Regions from separate parts of the Homo sapiens genome. Here region 1 is linked to region 2. Evidence: promoter capture Hi-C in 16 types of primary human blood cells and fetal thymus (Javierre and others, 2016). All regions are on one chromosome and are shown on one strand. Each heading gives the region's core, a stretch centred on a gene start or on the middle of the fragment in contact. The rest is flanking DNA. Distances are from core to core; before and after follow the strand shown.

Region 1 (4,685 bases), core at 506-3,005, 210 kb after region 2:
CCCCCACGCCCCCACTCCAACCCGGCCCCGTGGGGTCTCCCTCACCCCTGGGGGACACCGCATCTGGATTGCCAGACAAGGACAGCTCGTTCGAGGACCTGGAGCAGTTCCTGGGGACGTCTGAGCGGCAGGGCCGGGGCCGTGGGGTACAGCCGGAGCCCCAGCTGCAGCAGCTGAAGACCGCGGTGGAGGAGATCCACAATGCCGTAGGTGAGGCCAGGCCCTCCCTGGGAGAGCCGCCGCAGCTCTTCACCCCTGCTTATTGGTCCGTTTCAAGCTTCTGTTTGGGGAAGGGTCTGTTGATCAGAGACTCTGATCAGACTTACATCCACCCAGCTCACGCCTCAGCCCTTCTCATTTTGGAAACAGTGTGGTAGAAACGGAGTTTCACCATGTTGGTCAAGCTGTTCTCAAACTCCTGACCTCAGTTGATCTGCCCACCCCGGCCTCCCAAAGTGCTGGGATTACAAGCATGAGCCACCGCGCCCAGCCCAGAGTTTTCTAAGAACCACTGAGGGAGGCCCAACAGTCCAGGCGTCATTCTCACTGTGCTGCCCACACACTAAGGAACTTGGTCAGGGTCCCCACCCACAGGGGGTTGGATCTAAAGTCTTCCCTGGTTCCTGCAGTTTTGGGTAAAGCCCCTTTTGAGAAAAGGATCATTCTCCGGTTTCTTCTCAGGCTGCTGGCCCAACAGGGCAGCAGCTGTAGGTGACCGTTTCCAGTCCCGGACTCCCTGCCCTGGGCCGAGGAGGGTCAGGGGTGGGTGCAGGAGGCTTGAAGGCGGTGGAAAGAGGTTTCTTGGGCGGAGAAAGGCCCCGTGGCTTAGAGCCACTTGACCCAGCAGGGGAGGAGCCTCTGTGGACGTCCCCGGCTCTGTTCCTAGCAGACAGGCTGCTCTCGCTGACCCTTCTGGCCTTCGAAGGCCTAAACACAGCTGCCTCCAAGGACCGCTGCCTGGCCTGCATTGAGGAACCCTTTTTCTCCCCGCTGTGGCCTCTGCTGCTGGCCCTGTACAGGTATGGACCCAGCTGTACAACCACCTGCGTGGCCTAGTGTCTTCCAGCCCAGTCCCCCAGGAGGCCTGCCCTGCTCCCTGGCACTGTCTGCTCCCCTCCATCCCCAAGACTCGTGTTTGCTCCCCCTAGCCTGTGCTTTACCCTGAGGCCATCCTCAGGGGCTTCCAGTTTGCAGGTAGGATTATTGCCACTCTCCCGTGCCTGGGGTCTTGGCAACGCTGGGGCTTTTTGCTTGAGATACATAGCCAGTTTTCTCCAGGACTGAGCTCCAGCCACAGCCCTGCTTCTGTCCCCAGGGCAAGGTCCCTGGGGCAGCTTAGCCTGGCCTCTCTCTGCCCCAGGAGCGTGCACCGAGCCCGGGAGGCTGCCCTGAGCAGGAGCATGGAGCTCTACAGGAATGCACCCCCCACCGCCATTGGCATCCCCACCAAGCTCCTCCCCCAGAACCCTGAGGCCAAGGGGGCCACTGGCTACCCCTACTGCGCGGCGGCCCAGGAGCTCGGACTGCTGGTCCTGGAGAGCTGCCCCCAGAAGAAGCTGGAGTGCATAGGTCAGCAGGTTCGAGAGTCAGGGGGAGGGACAGGCTCCCATCCCAGTAGGTGACCTGGAGCCTGTGTCTTCACCACTGAGCTTCTCTTGTCACGTGCCGGTGGGGAGGTTGGGGGACCAGAACAAAAGTGGTGTCTGAGCAACATCGCCAGGGTCACCGTGGCTCTTCCCAGCCGTGCACATCAGGAGGTGGGTGGGTGGGCGGGGTATAAGGGGTGGCTCAGGCTGCTGGACGGGGTTAACTGCCCCTGAAACCCTGTCTGGGGCGCAGTGCGGACCCTGCGGATCATCTGTGTCTGTGCGGAAGACTACTGCCCCACCCCAGAGGCCACACCCCAGGCCGGGCCCCCGCCCATCGCTGCAGCTGCCATGTGAGTCCCAGGAGGGCGAGGTGTGGCCAGGGAGGAAGGGCCCTAGAAAGGCAATGGTCACGGGAGGGACTATCTTCCTGCCCCTTAGCCTTGTGCCAGCTGGCTGCACTGTAGAAGCAGGAGGGCCGTGTGGGCCCAGCCCTGGCTCCGCAGTACGGGAGCTCCCTTTAGGGACAGCCTCACCATGCCCAGCTGCCTTCCGGTGCCTCTGCGCAGAAGGGCACAGAGATGGCGGCCAGCACGGCCAGGATGGCTCCACAGCTGCTGGGTTTGCGGAGTGAGAGGCTCCTGGCCCCAACCCAAGGCCGCTATGCCCTCCCGACAGTGGTGCCGATGACCTGCTGCCCATCCTGTCCTTCGTGGTGCTGAGGAGCGGCCTCCCTCAGCTGGTGTCGGAGTGCGCGGCCCTGGAGGAGTTCATCCACGAGGGGTAGACCCTGGCGGGTCAGGGTGGGGGTCTCTGTGCGAAGAGCAGGGACCTCATCCCTCAACCTAAACGGTGGTTGTCAGTAGCAGCTGGGGAGGGTAGCGTGTGGCTCCGTCACAGCCATGCCTTCGGGCAGCCCCTGTGGGTCCACCTGTGCAGAGTGCCTGCTGCCACATGTCCCGTGGCCCTTCGCTTAGCTCAGCCTCTCCCAGACAGCAGGAGCTGGGGGCTGTCCCCTGAGCAGCATCTGCCTGGGGAGGGGATAAGGATCCAGTGCCATCCCTGGCTCTACCGTCCAAGGACGAGCACATAGTGGGTGGGAAAGGCCTCCTCTAGCCCAGCCGCCCTGACAGCCCCACCTGCCCACCCTCAGCACCCAGGTCCTGAACTGGGAGGGCAGACACTACCTTCTGGAGGGCCGGGGGTATCCTTCTGTTCGTTCAGATGACACCGGCTGCCCCTGCCATCCATGCAGGTACCTGATCGGAGAGGAGGGCTACTGCCTCACATCACTGCAGAGTGCCCTGAGCTACGTGGAGCTGCTGCCCCGGGGAGGCCTGGCCAAGTAGTACAGCTAGAGCCCAGGGTCCCTGCAGGGCCTGGCCTCGCCTCCCAGGGCTGTCTCTCCTACACCTGGAGCCATGGGATCTACTGAGGACCATCCTGGAGCCTCACGCTGCTCTGCACATGGTGGGGGCTTGTCCACTGTGGTGTGCTCTCCAGCTCTTCACCTTCCTCACCTCACATCTGACCCTGGAGCTTGGGGTTGGCACCTCTGCCCCGACAGAATGGGGCTGAATCAGCTCCAGGAGGAACCAGGCCCTGCTCTCCTGTGTAGGCCTCAGAGAGGCCAAGAAGGGAAGCTTTGGGCTTCGGTGGGTGCAGGCTCAGCGATGAACATCTGGCTGGGGCAGCTCCTGGGGAGCATCAGGGAAGAGGGGGCCATGAGCCGGCCAGCAGTGGAGACGGCAGTCCAGTTTCTCTCCCCTCTGACCCCTAGAAGGGGAGTTGTAGCCCCATGAACTAGTTTCTTGTCTGGGTCAGGAACAAGGGCCGGCTGGGGCCTGGGGTGCAGCTGGTGTCAGGGTATGCTGTTTGCTGATGGGCAGGGACACCCCTGCAGGGTCTCGGGCTCTGAGCCCAGGACATTCCCTGCCCCTTACTCACCTTGGCTGTGGGCTGTGAACATTCCGGGACCCTGGGCATCTTATCTAGGTCCGTGCAGCCCAAGGGTCAGCCCTCTTGACTGTCACATGCTGCCCCCACCCAGCCTAAAATAAAGAGCTCACTGCTGTGCTTCGCCGTGTGGCTCCCTCAATCCCCACCCCACTGGCCAGGCAGCACAACCACCCCTGCTGCCCATGGCAGAGGCCGCTGAGGATGTGGGGGACGAGCCACAGCCCAGCCCCAAACCAAGCCTGGCCCAACCTCTTGAACATCTGCCAGCCTCCGAGACCCTCTGCATAGAAGCAGGGTCCTCTTGGGGCTGTGCCTGGCCAGGCAGGTGTGGGCTTCACCCTCTTGGACAGGAGAGCTCTGCAGGGCATCAGTGGGTGGGAAGGGTGGGGTGAGGCTGGGGTCCAGGTCATCACTGGGGACCTGAGCCCAGAGCAGTCACCCGAGGGTCTCAGGAATCATCGTTCTGTGCATGGCGACACACACATGCTCTGAGGTGCACAGAAGGCTGCCGGGCGTGGACAGCATCTGCCAGGGCGGTGTGGGCAGATCAGGATGGAGGGCTCTTCTGCAAGAAAGGCACCCCTGGCACCTTGAGATGCCATGAGGAGGCAGGTGGCAGGGCTGGTGGGGTGGGAGGTCCCAACCCTAGATGCTACCAGGAGCTGGCTGGGGGGCAGTGTTGCTGTTCTCAGGGAAACAGTCTTAAAAGCAGTAGCTGTGGACCTCGGTGGGATGCTCTGTGCTTGCACCCTGAGCAGGGGCTGGTTTACCCGCCAAGGACCCCATAGGGAGACAGAAGTGTCTCTCTGGGTGGGGCAGAGCTGGAGCATCTGCCCCAGCCCTCGATACGAACCCCAGCTGGCCACGGTGCCTTGGAGCTTGGGCTGCTCCGGCCTCAGCGTTGGTGTCTAGAAGATGGGATTTTAAAGTCCGCTTCATAGAATGGTGGAGATGAGCTGTGTCTTGAACAAATCCTGGCGTGGGAGCCCCTGCTGGCTTGGCATCGGGGCCACACCTGCAGCCTGCACACTGTGGGGGCCGGGAACGTCCTGGCTCAGCTGTATCCCTGGCGCTGAGACCCGGCAGACATGTTCAAGTGCTGCTGTTTGCTGTGCAGCTTTGCCCTCGCTGAGCCTGCAG
Region 2 (4,868 bases), core at 1-2,500:
CGAGAAAGAGGTTGAAGTTCTTGAAGATGCAGCCGCACGTGGGGTGCTCGGGGCAGAGGACGATGAGTGTGAGATGCAGGAAGAAGGGGCCCCAGCAGAGGAAGAAAATGCCCAGCAGGATGGTGAGGGTGACAGCGCCTTTAAGGCCAAAGCCCTGGTGGACCGGGCGCTGCCTCTTGTGGAGCCGGGCGATGCCCTGGGCGTGCTGGCAGGCCCGGGCCAGCATGTGGACGTACAGCACGGCCATGAGCACCAGCATAGCCAGGAAGAAGACCACGAGGCACAGCAGGACGGCCACGTGGTCGTAGTAGGCGATGAAGAGCGTGCTGAAGACGACACTGGCCACCCAGATGGCCGCAACGGCTCGCCGCGCCCGCGGCAGGGTCACGATGCTGTGGTAGCGCAGTGCGTAGAAGATGGAGATGTAGCGGTCCACGGCGATGGCGCCCAGGAAGCAGAGGCTGGACAGCATGGAGCTGCAGGTGATCACGTCAATGACATTGTCCAGCTGCTGCAGCACCGCAGCCCGGGCCACCAGTGCACCGGCCTCCAGCAGGAGGATGACGGCCGTCTCCAGCACGTTGCTCCCGCTCACCAGCAGGTCCGACAAGGCCAGGCAGCAGATGAAGCAGTACATGGGTGAGTGCAGGTTCCGGTTCTTGGCGATGGTGGCCACCACCAGCGCGTTCTCCACCAAGCTCACCAGCCCCAGGCTGAGGAAGAGCCCGTCAGAGATGGACACCTCCAGGCACCGGGCTCCTGTCTGGTTGGCAGCCAGCCCCAGCTGGGGGATGGCTGTGGGGGTGGAGTTGAGGGAGCCCAGAAGTCTTCTCTGGGATCCCTGCACAGCCATAGTCCTGTCCAGGAAGCAGGAAGGAGTCGTTGGAGGCCTCCAGGTCCCCACAGTTCTTCCCCTCCAGGTGTCCTGCTTAGTTCATGGTGCTGCCAGGGGGCCTTGGGTGTCCCCCATGCCTGCCTCCTTCCATCTGGGCACCCCCAGATCTGCCCTCACACCCTCTCCCTGGCTGGACAGGTCAGCCCAGGCATGGCCCAGCCAGTCCAGACACCTCCTGGCATCTACCGCCTGGGCTCAGGGATTCTCACAACCAAGCCTGGTCCTCAGCTCCCTCCCTGCCTCTTCCCTGGTGGCTGCTGCTCAGGTCCCCAGGACATTTCGACACCTCTGGACCGTCCTGGCCTCTGTCTCCTGCCTTCCTGGGCCAGGGCTGCGCTGAGGTCCTGGGAAGAATGGAGCTTTTCTCTGCGTTTTAAAAAGTCGTTCTCAGAGCCCCTCCCACTGAGGGCGGCCACATGCCGGGGGCGTGAGCACCCACCATGGCCCGGCCTGCCACCAGGCGGCGTGCAGGACCCAGGGGGTCCCTCACACCGCGGATCTCCTTTACGTTAAAAAACACCACAGTCTGTCCTGGTCACCAGGGCCCCCACCTGGCCGCCCCTCTAGGAGTCCGGAGCTTCCCCGGGACCTGCCCTCTCCAGAGGCCCCACCCTTCACCCCTCCCCTCGTCAGCAGCTCAGGGAGGACAGGGGTCCCCTCTGCTCTCAGCCAAAGCACGCATGGAGCAGCAACTCAGCTGTCAACGTTCACGGCAGATTTGGGGGCTGGACCAGGGAGAACTTTCCAATAATTAAAGTTCTGGAAACTGAGTGAGCCCTGCAGGAGTTTGCACATCGCGCGGGGTGAGGGGGCTTCCGGCCAGGGCAGAGCGTGAAAGCGTCCAATGCTAGTGAGCCCTGGAGAGGTTGGTGTTTTCAGGCATCTTGTAGAGCCTGAGGCCACTCTGGCGCCTGCCCCCAAGGGCCCAGCCTCGCCCAGCCAGAGTGGCGACCCCCTCAGCTGCAGCCCTGGGGCTGTGGGGGTGTCGCTTCCTGGGAGCGGACCGGCTGGGGGCACCCTAGTGAGGTCTTCAGGGACCCTCCAGTCATCTCGTCGCTCATCCTCACAGGGGCACCCGGGACGCTGCTCCCGCCCTCCCCGGGCGGCGCGCCATTTCCGCTGCGGAAGGCACCACAGGCCCTGCACCAACAGCCACATCAAAGGCAGACCTCTCGCCTCCAGCCGTCGCACGTGGTGCTCCGCAGGCCGTTCACAGCAGTCGGGCGTGGCCCCGAAGCCCAGCAGGGACGGTGGAGAGGGGCCCTGGCACCCACTGCAGGCATCTTCCTGGGTTCACTCCAGGGCGTTCCCAGCACTTCCTTGCTGAAGACTGCGTCTGTGCTGAAGGGTGGAAGCGGGAGGGGGATGGAATTACTCGTCCCATTTACAGCTGCAGGAAAGGAGGCAACGGTGCAGGCACCGCATCAGGGTTTTCAGTTTTGTGTCTGCGATGTTCGAGTTAAAATCCATCCTGTCTCTCGCCCAACTGCCAAACTCTGACCATGAAATGCTCACACCACTCACAAGCCACCTCCATGTGTGTGAGGACATTAATATTTTTCATATTTACTGGTACAGTAAATACTTGTTACAACCGCATTTTACAATTTATAAATCTTTAGTTTTGCTTTAAAATTTTTTATTATTGTCAGCCATGGTGGCTCAGGGCTGTAATCCCAGCACTTTGGGAGCCCAAGGCGGGTGGATCACCTGAGGTCAGGAGTTCGAGACCAGCCTGGCCGACATGGAGAAACCCCGTCTCTACTAAAAATACCAAAATCAGCCAGGTGTGGTGGTGGGTGCCTGTAATCCCAGCTGAGTCAGGATAATAGCTTGAACATGAGAGGCGGAGGTTGCCGTGAGCCGAGATTGCACCATTGCACTCCAGCCTGGGCAACAAGAGCAAAACTCTGTCTCAAAAAAAAAAAAAATTATTATTGCCGGGCACAGTGGCTCACCCCTATAATCTCAGCACTTTGGGAGGCTGAGGCAGGCGGATCATGAGGTCAGGAGTTCAAGACCAGCTTGGGTAATATGGTGAAACTCCATCTCTACTAAAAATACAAAAATCAGCCAGGCGTGGTGGCGCACGCCTATAATCCCAGCTACTTGGGAGGCTGAGGCAGAATTGCTTGAACCCAGGAGGCGGAGGTTGCAGTGAGCCGAGATCACACCACTGCACTCCAGCCTGGGAAACAGAGATACAGTCTCAAAAAAAAAAAAATATATATATATATATATATACATATAATTTTTATGTATTTATTTATTTTGAGACAGTTTCACTCTGTCGCGCAGGCTGGAGTGTAGTGGTGCATTCTTGGCTCACTGCAACCTCCACCTTCTGGATTCAAGCAATACTTATGCCTCAGCCTCCCAACTAGCTGGGACTACGGCACCCACTACCACACCTGGCTATTTTTTGTATTTTTTGTAGAGATGAGGTTTCACCATGTTGACCAGGCTGGTCTTGAACTCCTGACCTCAGGTGATCGGTCCGCCTCAGCCTCCCAAAATGCTGAGATTACAGGGATGAGCCCCCACACCCCATCTGCTTTAATTTTTTTTTTTTTTTTTTTGAGACGAAGTCTCACTGTCACCCAGGCTGGAGTGCAGTGGCATGATCTTGGCTCACGGTAGCCTCTGCCTACTGGGTTCAAGTAATTCTCATACCTCAGCCTCCTGAGTAGCTGGAACTACAGGCGCGTGCCGCCACACCCGGCAAATTTTTGTATTTTTTTTAGTAGAGATGGGGTTTCACCATGTTGGCCAGGACGGTCTTGATCTCCTGACCTCATGATCCTCCCGCCTCCGCCTCCCACAGTGCTGGGATTACAGGCGTGAGCCACCGCGCCCGGCCCTAAAATGTTTTAATTGAGGTACAACATACATGAAAATGCACCAGTGATAAATATGCAGGTTGACGGATGACAGACCTGAACCAGCCACATAAGCAGCACCAGACCAACAGACACAGCGTTCCCACCCGGACGGCTCCAGCGAGCCGCTGCCAGCCCATCTGGCCCATCACGTGAATGGTGTCCCAGTTCACTCTCTCTGGCTGAGATTCGCCTATGCCGGTGGCTGTAACCGTCTGCCTCAGACCGTGGTGTCCACGGCGTGAACAGACCACGTCTGGGTGGCTTCAGACTCCCTATCAACGATACCGTCTGATGGACACAGGTGCGTCTGTGGATTGCCACCCGGGGGACATGGGCAGGGACCTCTCTTCAGCTTTGGGAGACTTGGTCAAACCATCTTCAAATCGGCAGGCCTGTTTCTGTTCACACACGCAGCCCCAGGCTGCTCAGAGGAGAGAGCGCGCCCTGCCCACACCACCACAGGACCTGGTATCCGGCCACAGCCACAGAGCCTCGGCCTCAGCCCAGCCTTTTGCCTCCCATGACCTTTGCCCCCTCACGCTGTGCTTCCAGCATGAGCACAGGGGAGAGAAGGGTCCCAAGGTGTGAGAAGGCCAAGCCTCTGCCTCGGGAAGGAAGACGGCTCCACTGGTGTGAGGGCCGTGGCTGTGTCCCTGCCCCAGGAGCACCCCCGACGTCCACAGCACCTCACAGACCCAGACCCAGAGCCCGCTCACCTCTGGCCATGAACCAGTGAGCAGCCCCTGCCCCAGAGCACTGTCCCCTCACATTTCAAGGACGTTCGTGTTTGCAGCTCCACAATGAGGCCTTTGAGACGGACGGCGGTTAACCCCAGCCTCCACTGCTACCCCCCAGCCCGGGACTTGAAAGGGCATGAGAACTGGGCAGCCTTTTTCGTGCCAAGATGCAGCTGGAGGGCATCGGAAGTGGGGTGACCCTGCCACAGGACTCCCACTGTGGTTCCTCACTGGATGTGCCTGTCGGGGCTTCGTGGGAAGATGAGGCACAGCCGAGCTGCAAAAAGTCAACTTTTTGATGTGTTATGGTCATGGGGGAGATAAATTAGCCTCGGGATGATCTGTGATTAGATG

The links. The method cuts DNA at HindIII sites, captures the fragments that hold promoters and counts their contacts. A CHiCAGO score of 5 or more calls a contact.
Region 1: a contact is called between a fragment that was not itself captured here and the fragment with the promoter of MC1R in region 2, in 1 of 17 cell types (M0 macrophages). The highest score is 5.5, in M0 macrophages.

Annotation. Positions count from the first base shown.
Region 1 is chr16:89,706,111-89,710,795 of GRCh38, reverse strand. It overlaps VPS9D1 (VPS9 domain containing 1), which reads left to right. Exons shown (of 15, transcript NM_004913.3): 10 at 1-210; 11 at 890-1,019; 12 at 1,361-1,569; 13 at 1,840-1,939; 14 at 2,265-2,369; 15 at 2,842-3,662. The coding sequence ends at 2,935. Among named protein-coding and RNA genes, the nearest start is that of VPS9D1-AS1, 3.4 kb to the left of the region's middle. RefSeq lists enhancers at 1-109, 3,909-4,409, 4,387-4,566. The HindIII fragment of the contact is 2,952 bases long and covers 280-3,231 here.
Region 2 is chr16:89,915,244-89,920,111 of GRCh38, reverse strand. MC1R (melanocortin 1 receptor) reads right to left here and starts at 1,250. Exons shown (of 1, transcript NM_002386.4): 1 at 1-1,250. The coding sequence starts at 853. It overlaps LOC124903759 (keratin-associated protein 5-1-like), which reads right to left. Exons shown (of 4, transcript XM_047435031.1): 3 at 2,065-2,236; 4 at 1,142-1,261. The coding sequence ends at 1,157. RefSeq lists enhancers at 1-711, 1,310-1,359, 712-1,595, 1,596-2,481 and a silencer at 529-810. The HindIII fragment of the contact is 10,478 bases long and covers 1-4,868 here.